Regions from separate parts of the Homo sapiens genome. Here all the other regions are linked to region 1. Evidence: promoter capture Hi-C in 16 types of primary human blood cells and fetal thymus (Javierre and others, 2016). All regions are on one chromosome and are shown on one strand. Each heading gives the region's core, a stretch centred on a gene start or on the middle of the fragment in contact. The rest is flanking DNA. Distances are from core to core; before and after follow the strand shown. Region 1 holds the start of XRN1 (5'-3' exoribonuclease 1). Region 2 overlaps U2SURP (U2 snRNP associated SURP domain containing). Region 3 overlaps RASA2 (RAS p21 protein activator 2).

Region 1 (3,001 bases), core at 24-2,523:
TTTCTCTCTGATCATTAATTATATGTAAAATAATATACATTCAGTTATTAAGAAATAAACTGCTTTCTTAATACATACTGTGCATTATAATTGGAGAAATAGAATATCATGTGTTCTTATGGTCAAAAACTATATTTGCAAGAAACAAGCAAGTCTAATTTCATTTTACAACTTCTATTGATTTCCTTTTAAAAGTCCTAGCTATTGTAAGGATTCACTTGAAGAACAAAATTATATGGAATAAATACTGTGGGCAAGGCGTTGTGCCAGACTTGTGCATAGAGCTACCCTCTCCTGCCCTCCAGGAAGTGACAGTCTAGTAAGAGAGATATATAAATATAAATAGCATATCATTAAGTTCACTTAATAAAACTTTGTTTTAAAGTGTGATAGGGAAAAAATATAAGCCAAGAAGCGTGAATGTGAAAACGAAATAAACATTCTGTAATTTGTGTGATGCTGCCATACTGCAGTCCCAGAATGCAGAATCCAGTGGTCATGAAAGACAGCGATACTTAACATTTCCTGAGATCTTAAAATCCAAAAAGTATTAAATGTTTAAGGTTTTTCTGTAAGTTTTCATCCAGAAGACTTAAATACAAAGTAACGGGTTAATACATTCAAATAAGTGGAAAACTCTTACATTTAAAACTGATAATTTCACTTAAGTTGATAGAACTCTCCTTTGCTGTGCGGTTGAAAGTGTGATGGGGAAAAATATGATAAACCCGGATGCAAGAATGTCAAAACTAAACATTAAATGATTTCGTATCCAAGGTCTTATGTTAACAGTTGCGGGGGGCGGGTACATGGGAAATTTTTTTGAACAATTTGGAAAAGAACGTTTTTAAACGTATGTATTAAGAAACGTAAGTTTAAATTCCTCAGAGAAAAAAAATTATTGACAAAACAACAAACTAAGCCAAGTAAATCACCAGATCTTTCGAAATCTGAATGAAAAATACTGAGATTAGCAACCCTAGGAGACAAGCGGAACAAAAATCAGTGTTCGATACCCTTCCCACACCTTCGTACGGTTTTCATGCCACTTCCAAATCCACTTAGAAAGCACAACTCTATCATGGGGCATTTTCGCCCCTAAGTTGCAACACACCAGCAAACCTCCGCAGATTCCCTGACCGCCACTGGACAGTACCGCGGCCCCGGCCGCGCGAGGCCCGGAGGGCTAAGCCCCGCCCCTCGGACGGCCTCGGATCCTGCCGCTCTAGGCCCGCCGGGCGCTCTCTATGGTCGGCCGGGCGGTGTGTTGTCATCCGCGGAGCGACGACCGGAGGCTGCGGCGGAGCCCCGGCGGGGCGTTTGGTTTCGGTTTGGCCCTGACTGGGATTAGTGTTGACGATCGAAATGGGAGTCCCCAAGTTTTACAGATGGATCTCAGAGCGGTATCCCTGTCTCAGCGAAGTGGTGAAAGAGCATCAGGTGGGTGAGCGAGGGGCAACGGCTCAGAAAGCCGAGGACCCGGGGCTCCGCGGCCCTCTCCACCTTAGAGCTGGGGCTTTCGAGCCACCTCTTTCCCCTCGTCGTCTGGACGATTAGTGGCATTAGGGAGGGGGACGGAAGGTTTGAGGACGCCCGGATGAGCCGAAAGGGGCTAAGGACGCAGGTTGCCTGTGTGTGGACAGAGCCGCTGGGTTCACGGCTTCTCTGACAGCTCTTGCTTCTGCTGGTCCTTCCGCGACTCCGAAATGAAGTCCTGGGAAAGAACGCTTTTACTGTTCTCCGGTTTCCTCCCGGGGAGCTGCAAGTTGCCTTTTTCCTTACAGAGGCTGCGAAGCTGGAGTGGGTGTCCTCGTAGGTTCCCCCATCCCACCCAGAGCGGCAGACCCACTTACAGACGATAACAGCCGCTTCCGCACGCAGTCACCTTGTTTACTTTCCCTGATCTAGAGCGCGGCCCACCCGGCCCCCGGAGCCTAGACTTTCCGACGTGGCTGATGGTCATATTGGTGATGCCTTTTGTTACTTTCTGTTATTTCAAAAGCAGCACCAATCCCCTGTTGCCAAAACAAAAAACTCTTGGGCCAGCTGGGGAGTGGGGCGTAGGACCTTTTATTTGGAGGCCTCACTGTGTGACAGAGGGGGTTGGGAAACGAATTGATAGAACATTAATACTACTAATAATATTTGGCATGTACTGACCCCAGGACAACGTTAATGTGTAGATTCCGAAAACGTAGTTTATATATTGGAACTGTGGAAAGAGAGGAGAAAGCAGTCGTCTATTAGGTAAACTAGACTTTGGGTGATACTTTGGTGTTTGTCACATTTAATGAATTTGATCTCTTTTCTGATGCTTTACAGAAAAAAAGCTTGAAATTTGTGTAGCTGATTGAATCAGTTGTGATGGGTAGTATTGTAAATAGCCTATTAAATTATGGTTTAATCGGCATTTACGAACATGAAGGTAGTTTACTTCTGGAAAGGAGTTTTTGTTGCTGGATTCCAATCAGATTTGGTAGATGAGAAATAGACTACAAAAAGTTTCCAAGGTTAGCTTATCTTGAATTTATTTGAAACATAGATTGAGTTAGGTTTAGAGAGGTATTTTTTTCCCCCGGGGAGGGCTAAAAAGGAAACCAGTACATTGCAGAAATGGAGACAACCAACTTTGGCTTTTCTTGCATCCTTCAGTCAGTACCTGCTATATATCAGTCACTTTATCTCTAAAGTGCAAAAATAATGCGATTGTTATTCGTGATGATTTAATACATAATTTGTTCAGTAATATTTTTATTCTGTAGTCTGTGGCACAGAATTTGGTTTGGTGAAAATATCTTAGATTCTCTCCATCCTGAGGAATTTTGTTACTGAAGAATGAAAATCTCTTTAATGCAGTTTTATGACATGGACACTAAGGATAGGTTTTGTGAAAGCTTTATATAGAAACTGGGAGGAGAATTATTTTTAAATTTCACTGTAAATAAATTTTAAAATTTGGTTCATTGTTGTGATACCTTTCAAAAATGTTTGATTAAAAAGA
Region 2 (2,888 bases), core at 305-2,804, 580 kb before region 1:
ACACCTATTTGTTATACTGTCAATAGCTAAGAAAGTGATATGATATAAAATCTTTCCAAAAAATTGGTAATTTAGCTTAAGTGTAAGCCAATTTTTTAAAAAATTCTACAAACCATTAAGAAATTCAAATTAGTCTTCCCTCAGTATCCATGGGGGGACTGGTTCCAAGACCTCCCATGGACACCAAAATCCACAGATGCTCAAGTTCCTGATTGAAAATGGCATAATATTCACCTGTAACCTATCCTCATCCTCCCATCTGTTAAATCATCTCTAGGTTACTTACAATACCTAATACAATGTAAATGCTATGTAGAGTTTTCATACTATATTGTTTAGAAAATGACAAGGAAAAAAGTCTGTACAGGTTCGGTACAGATACAATTTTTCTTCTCAAATATTTTCAATTCATGGTTGGTTGAATTCATGGATAAGGAACCCACAGACATGGAGGGCTGACTGTACTTCTTATTCTTGCAGGATGTTAACAAAACAATCCTCTTTTCTGAACTCCTTACCCTTAAATACTTTATTTCAGGAATATCAGTTATATCATTATACTTACAATTTTCTATAATATGAAGCATTAGCAACTTTGGCTGAAGAGTTGTACAAAACATCAGAAACCAAATATAATCTGGCAATCTATAATATCAAAAGATAACACAAAATAGGTTAATATAAGGCTAATGTTTAGCTATAATTTAATTATGGCTACTAATTAGAAGAGTTATATGAAGCTCAGTATCACCACAACTATGACTCTGGCAGAGATGAAATTTGTTAACCCATTTACATTTCAACTTGTTTGTTAACTTGTATGTTAATGAACCTAAATTTCCAAGCAGAAATAACATAAGACTGCATGGGAAAAATCTCATCAGTCAAGTGCTTTGTGCAAAAAGGAAACCAATTCTAATCCCAAAAGACGTCAACTATCTCCCCTTTTCTTAAAATTCATTCCCATACCTTTTTAGGAAGGGGTGTCTTTAAGATGGACAACGACTCAGTAATGCAATCCACTATTTCTTCAGCAGCTTCAGCATTATTAAGACAGAAAACCATTGCATCTCCAATATCATTTTTCCTTGGAGTTAATCCCCGCAAGATTTCTTCCAATTTATCCCTCTGTCTGAACATAAATTGTTTTAACTTATAAATATTTAGATACAATTTCAAATGCCATTGTAGCTTTTGCTCACAAACTAATTTCTTTAAAACCTACTCACATAAAATAATTCTGAAGACTGTAATACATTCAGTCTGATTTGTGTTGTGTCCCCCAAAATTGTTACAATTTTTTGAAGAATTTATATAAGAATACTCTGTAGAATAAGATTCCAATTATGTTTTCAGCTTACAAATTAAGTAAATTTAAAATCATACGCATTTCTTCAAGCGTCTTTAAGAGCACCCCAGTCTTACCATCCCATGATACTGAAGAACTTTCATGTTCTTTACTCCCCTTCTTTGAAGGAAGTCTATTACTTTAACACTTCTGCCTGGGATTACGACAGGCTAATTTTTTCTGTAAAGGAAAAGACTGGCTGGGTGCGGTGGCTCATGCCTGTAATCCCAGCACTCTGGGAGGCCAAGGTAGGCGGATCACAAGGTCAAGAGATCAAGACCATCCTGGCCAACATGGTGAAACCCTGTCTGTACTAAAAATATAAAAATTAGCCAAGTGCAGTGGCAGGCACCTATAATGCCAGCTACTCGGGAGGCTGAGGCAGAAGAATTGCTTGAACCTGGGAGGCAGAGGTTGCAGTGAGCCAAGATCGTGCCACTGCATGCCAGCCTGGGTGACACAGCAACACTCCATCTCAGGGGAAAAAAAAAAAAAAGATTACAAATATTTTAGGCTTTGCAGGCCATATGATCTCTATCCCCCTGCTGGCATAGCACCAAAGCAGCCAGACAACATGTAGGGAAGGGAATTGACTGTATTCCAGTAAAACTTTATTTTCCAAAACAGGAGGCAGCCATATTTAGCCTATGAGCTGAGTTTGCAGATCCTAGGATTACAGTGATTATGAACATACATCTTCAGAAGTAAATACACTCAAACAGTATCACACTCCATTGCCAAATGCTCTCATAGGCAATGAATCAATGCAACAAGTATTAAGATTTATAGACTGCAGTGAAGTACATACAGGCATATCTCAAAGAGACGGATTCAGTTACAGACTACTGCAATAAAGCAAATATCACAATATAGCCAATCACATAAGTTTTTTGATTTCCCAGTGCATGTAAAAGTTATGTTTATACCATATTGTAGTCTATTAAGTATGCAATAGCAGTATGTCTAAAAAAACAATGTACACATTACTTTAAAAATACTTTCTTGTTAAAAATGCTAACAATCATCTGAACTCTCAGTGAGTCATAGCATTTTTGCTGGTGGAAGGTTTTGCCTCAATGTTGATGGCCAACTGATCAGGGTGGTGGTAGCTGAAGGTTAGGGTGGTGGTAGCTGAAGGTTAGGGCGGTGGTAGCTGAAGGTTGGGGTGGCTGCAGCAATTTCTTAAACAATAAAGTTTACCGCATCAACTGACATTTCTCATCACAGGGGATTTCTCTGCAGCATGAGTTGTTGTTTGTTAACATTTTACCCAGAGGAGAATGTCTTGCCAAACTGTAGTCAATCCTCTCAAACCCTGTACTACTTTATCAACTAACTTTATATATATTCTAGATCCTTTCATTTCAACAATGTTCACAGCTTCTTCATCAGAAATACATTCCATCTCAAGAAACCACTTAATTTGCTCATCCCTAAGAAGCAACTCCTCATTTATTAAAGTTTTATCATGAGATCACAGCAATTCAGTCCCATCTTTGAGCTCTACTTCTAATTCTAGTTCCCTTGCTATTTCTACCAT
Region 3 (3,315 bases), core at 349-2,848, 950 kb after region 1:
AACTATGCTATATGATTAGTAAAACTACTATTCCTAATTTGTAGACAAGGAAGCTGAGGCTCAGAGAGGTTAAGTGATTAGTAGAAAAGTAGCAGAAAACCATGCTTTAAACATGCTACCTTAGCCTTTATCATTTAATCAGTTTTCACACACTTAAAAAATATTTTGTATATAATAAATCTTACACAAGAAAAAAACACTCCCATTGATTTATCTTTAACAGTTCTGAATGGAGAAAGGAAGAGAAGAACTGTCTTTATCACACATGACCTTCCAAAGAGTCTCAAATTTACCCCCTTCAGAGTACATCAGATTGCTGCAGGGTATGAAGAAACAAAAACAAAAAAAGGAGGGGGGACTGTCAAGAACTACTGAAAAGAAAAAAGTTATGTAGCTGTTATTTCCTTCCTTAGTGGCTCCTTAACTGTCATCTTGAAAACACCACTGGAAAGTTACACATTTGTGACATTAATCAGACAGAGAATGAGAAATAGTACCAATAGGCATATGGTGACTGCTGGAATATCTACCACTAAGCAGAGTTTTCCAATGCATAAATTAACATGGTGAGATAACTCAGTTGTCAAGCAATTTTCCTCACTCCTGGCAAATGACTTGTATCTGTAAAATAATCCAAGAGTCTATAATCCCACTCGATTGGTAATCTTTAAAAAAACAACACATTGGCCAGGCACGGTGGCTCATGCCTGTAATCCCAGCACTTTGGGAGGCCGAGGTGGGCGGGTCAGGAGATCGAGACCATCCTGGCTAACATGGCGAAATGCCGCCTCTACTAAAAACACAAAAATTAGCTGGATGTGGTGGCGTGCACCTGCAGTCCCAGCTAATCGGGAGGCTGAGGCAGGAGAATTGTCGAACCTGGGAGGTGGAGGTTGCAGTGAGCTGAGATCGCACCACTGCACTCCAGCCTGGTGACAGAGGGAGACTCCGTCTCAAAAAAAAAATCAACACATTAAATAACTCCTACCAGAAATCTGGTTCTGCCTAAGAACAAGGCACTATGATAAAATGAGGTAGTACCAGTGAGCAAACACTTGAGTGGGCACAGGACTCTAGGAATATGACACAGTTTGGGTGGCTAGCCGAGACTCAGTGAAGCAAAGAACTGTTTTTTCGTGTGTGTGTGTGTGGCTATAAAACCTGAACTATATATAAGTACAATTCCACATAAATAAGGCAATCCTGTATAGTGGTATTATATCACAAGGGTTTTTGTGGGTATAAAACCTGAACTATATATAAGTACAATTACACATAAGTAAGACAATGGCTAGTGACAAGACAAAGTCAAAGTAAACGCATAAATACCACTGCAACTCCTCAGTGATAAAGTCTACAGAACATAATCGGGGCTAGTTGCTGCATGGAAGTCATGTGCACAATAACTATCATACAGTTATCTACACTGCTATCATATTAATCACTTTTCACTGAAGCTTAATCTAGAACAAGAAGTTAGGAAACTACTATACACGAAAAGGCAAGTTTCACAAGGTATTGCCAGGAAGTGTCTATGGGTTATATAGATACGTCACCAAGTTGCGGGCAGGATCTTCCTGTGGTTTGCCTTGCCCACTTCCGGTTTCAGTTTTGAATGTGTGCTGATCTACAAGCTCCCTACAGACCCCTTCCTCAAGTGGCAAACCAAACTCTGAAGTACATATGGCAGGAATCTCTTCTGGGCTAAGCCAATGGTACCTATAGCTACAAGAAGCTTAGCAAGGCTACCAAGGTGACCAAGAGAGCCTGGTATGACAAACAAAAGGAAGGCAAAAAGCCAGGTGCTGGCAGAACTCAGGGCTACATGGACAGGCTATATATGGGATATGGCTGTTATTTCTGGTGACAGCATCCAGGGGGCCAAAATAGGATTCATATTGATCTTCGCCCCCCCTCCACAAAAAAAAGACACCTAGACACATAAAGAAGTTACACCCATGAGCATATAAAGGTGTGTATGTGTATATCTGTGTGTGTGTATGTATGTGTGTACACATATCCAAGAACCACTCAAAAGTACATACAAACCCACATAAGCAGTTAGGCAGCTAAAATAATTACATTCATGAACCCCCAAAACAGGCCAGAAGATAAATTCTTATGGCATTCAAACATCATAATTTTATTGAATATCCACTACATTAGACCATAGCCAATTTAGGAGTAATTATCAACTTCTTGACAACATAAATGTATTCATCAATTCCTTCCAATATATCATCTCACAGGCAGCTTTGTAGAGAAAGGGATGTGGGCTTTGGTAACATAAAGACTTTCTGAAAACTTGGCTCTGCTCCCTTACAATCCTGAGCAAATAACCTCTGTCTGTTGCTTCTTCTCTAAAATAGGAATAACAATCTTCTTCATGAAATTGGATTACATGAAATATTTTGCAAAGTATCCTAACACAACATCTGGAAACCAGGAAATACTCAATAAACATTAGTTCACCCCATCTACCAAGAATATTTTATATAAAACTGTAAAATTCAAAACTAAAATTCTGTACCACTCACACAAATGTCATATTTTAAAGGATCCAAAATTTTCAGACCCTTTTTACCACATTTCTCTGAAACAATGTATTAAAATTTTAAAAAGTTTTTCTAACATAAACAATTAGTCAAACAGGCAAAGTATATAAGAATTTGCTGTATTATTTCTACTTTTTTTTTTTTTTTGAGACAGGGTCTCACTTTGTCACCCAGGCTGGAGTGCAGTGGTGCGACCTCAGCTCACCGCAGCCTCAACCTCCTGGGCTCAAGTGATTCTCTGGCCTCAGCATTCCAAGTATTAATAGCTAGGGCTGAAGACACACACCACTATGCCTGGCATTTTTTTTTTTTTTTCGTTTGTAGAAACGGAGTTTTGCCATGTGGCCCAGGCTGGTCTCAAACTCCTGAGCTCAAGCCATCCACCCTCCTCAGCCTATTCTTACAATTTGTAAGTTTGAAATTATATCAAAAGTTACCAAAAAAACTTAACAGAAAAGTTGACTTTATTTCTTCTATAGCACTCAAAATGTTACAAAACCTAACATTTGATTACTCTTGTTTTGCAGATAGGATAGTCTTCCAAAGTAGAGCAACAGAGACTGGCACAGCTTAAGATTAATACTGTATCAAGTTCATTTATATAAATAGTTACTTTTGATAATATAATATATAAATATACTCCCTATAGGAAATCAAACCATTACAGATAAGGCTAACTCGCTCTTTTTTTTTTTTTATTATACTTTACGTTTTAGGGTACATGTGCACAATGTGCAGGTTTGTTACATATGTATACATG

Evidence for each region. Contacts are between HindIII fragments. The CHiCAGO score rates a contact against its expected background, and 5 or more counts as called.
Region 2: a contact is called between a fragment that was not itself captured here and the fragment with the promoter of XRN1 in region 1, in 1 of 17 cell types (naive CD8 T cells). The highest score is 6.2, in naive CD8 T cells.
Region 3: a contact is called between a fragment that was not itself captured here and the fragment with the promoter of XRN1 in region 1, in 1 of 17 cell types (fetal thymus). The highest score is 7.3, in fetal thymus.

The regions. Positions count from the first base shown.
Region 1 is chr3:142,446,309-142,449,309 of GRCh38, reverse strand. XRN1 (5'-3' exoribonuclease 1) reads left to right here and starts at 1,273. Exons shown (of 41, transcript NM_001282857.2): 1 at 1,273-1,440. The coding sequence starts at 1,366. It overlaps ATR (ATR checkpoint kinase), which reads left to right. Exons shown (of 47, transcript NM_001184.4): 47 at 1-75. RefSeq lists an enhancer at 1,276-1,555. The HindIII fragment of the contact is 7,800 bases long and covers 1-2,332 here.
Region 2 is chr3:143,031,028-143,033,915 of GRCh38, reverse strand. U2SURP (U2 snRNP associated SURP domain containing) reads right to left here. Exons shown (of 28, transcript NM_001080415.2): 17 at 970-1,132; 18 at 566-645. Among named protein-coding and RNA genes, the nearest start is that of U2SURP, 31 kb to the right of the region's middle. The HindIII fragment of the contact is 4,237 bases long and covers 1-2,888 here.
Region 3 is chr3:141,497,259-141,500,573 of GRCh38, reverse strand. All of the region lies in intron 1 of RASA2 (RAS p21 protein activator 2), which reads right to left. Among named protein-coding and RNA genes, the nearest start is that of RASA2, 12 kb to the right of the region's middle. The HindIII fragment of the contact is 278 bases long and covers 1,460-1,737 here.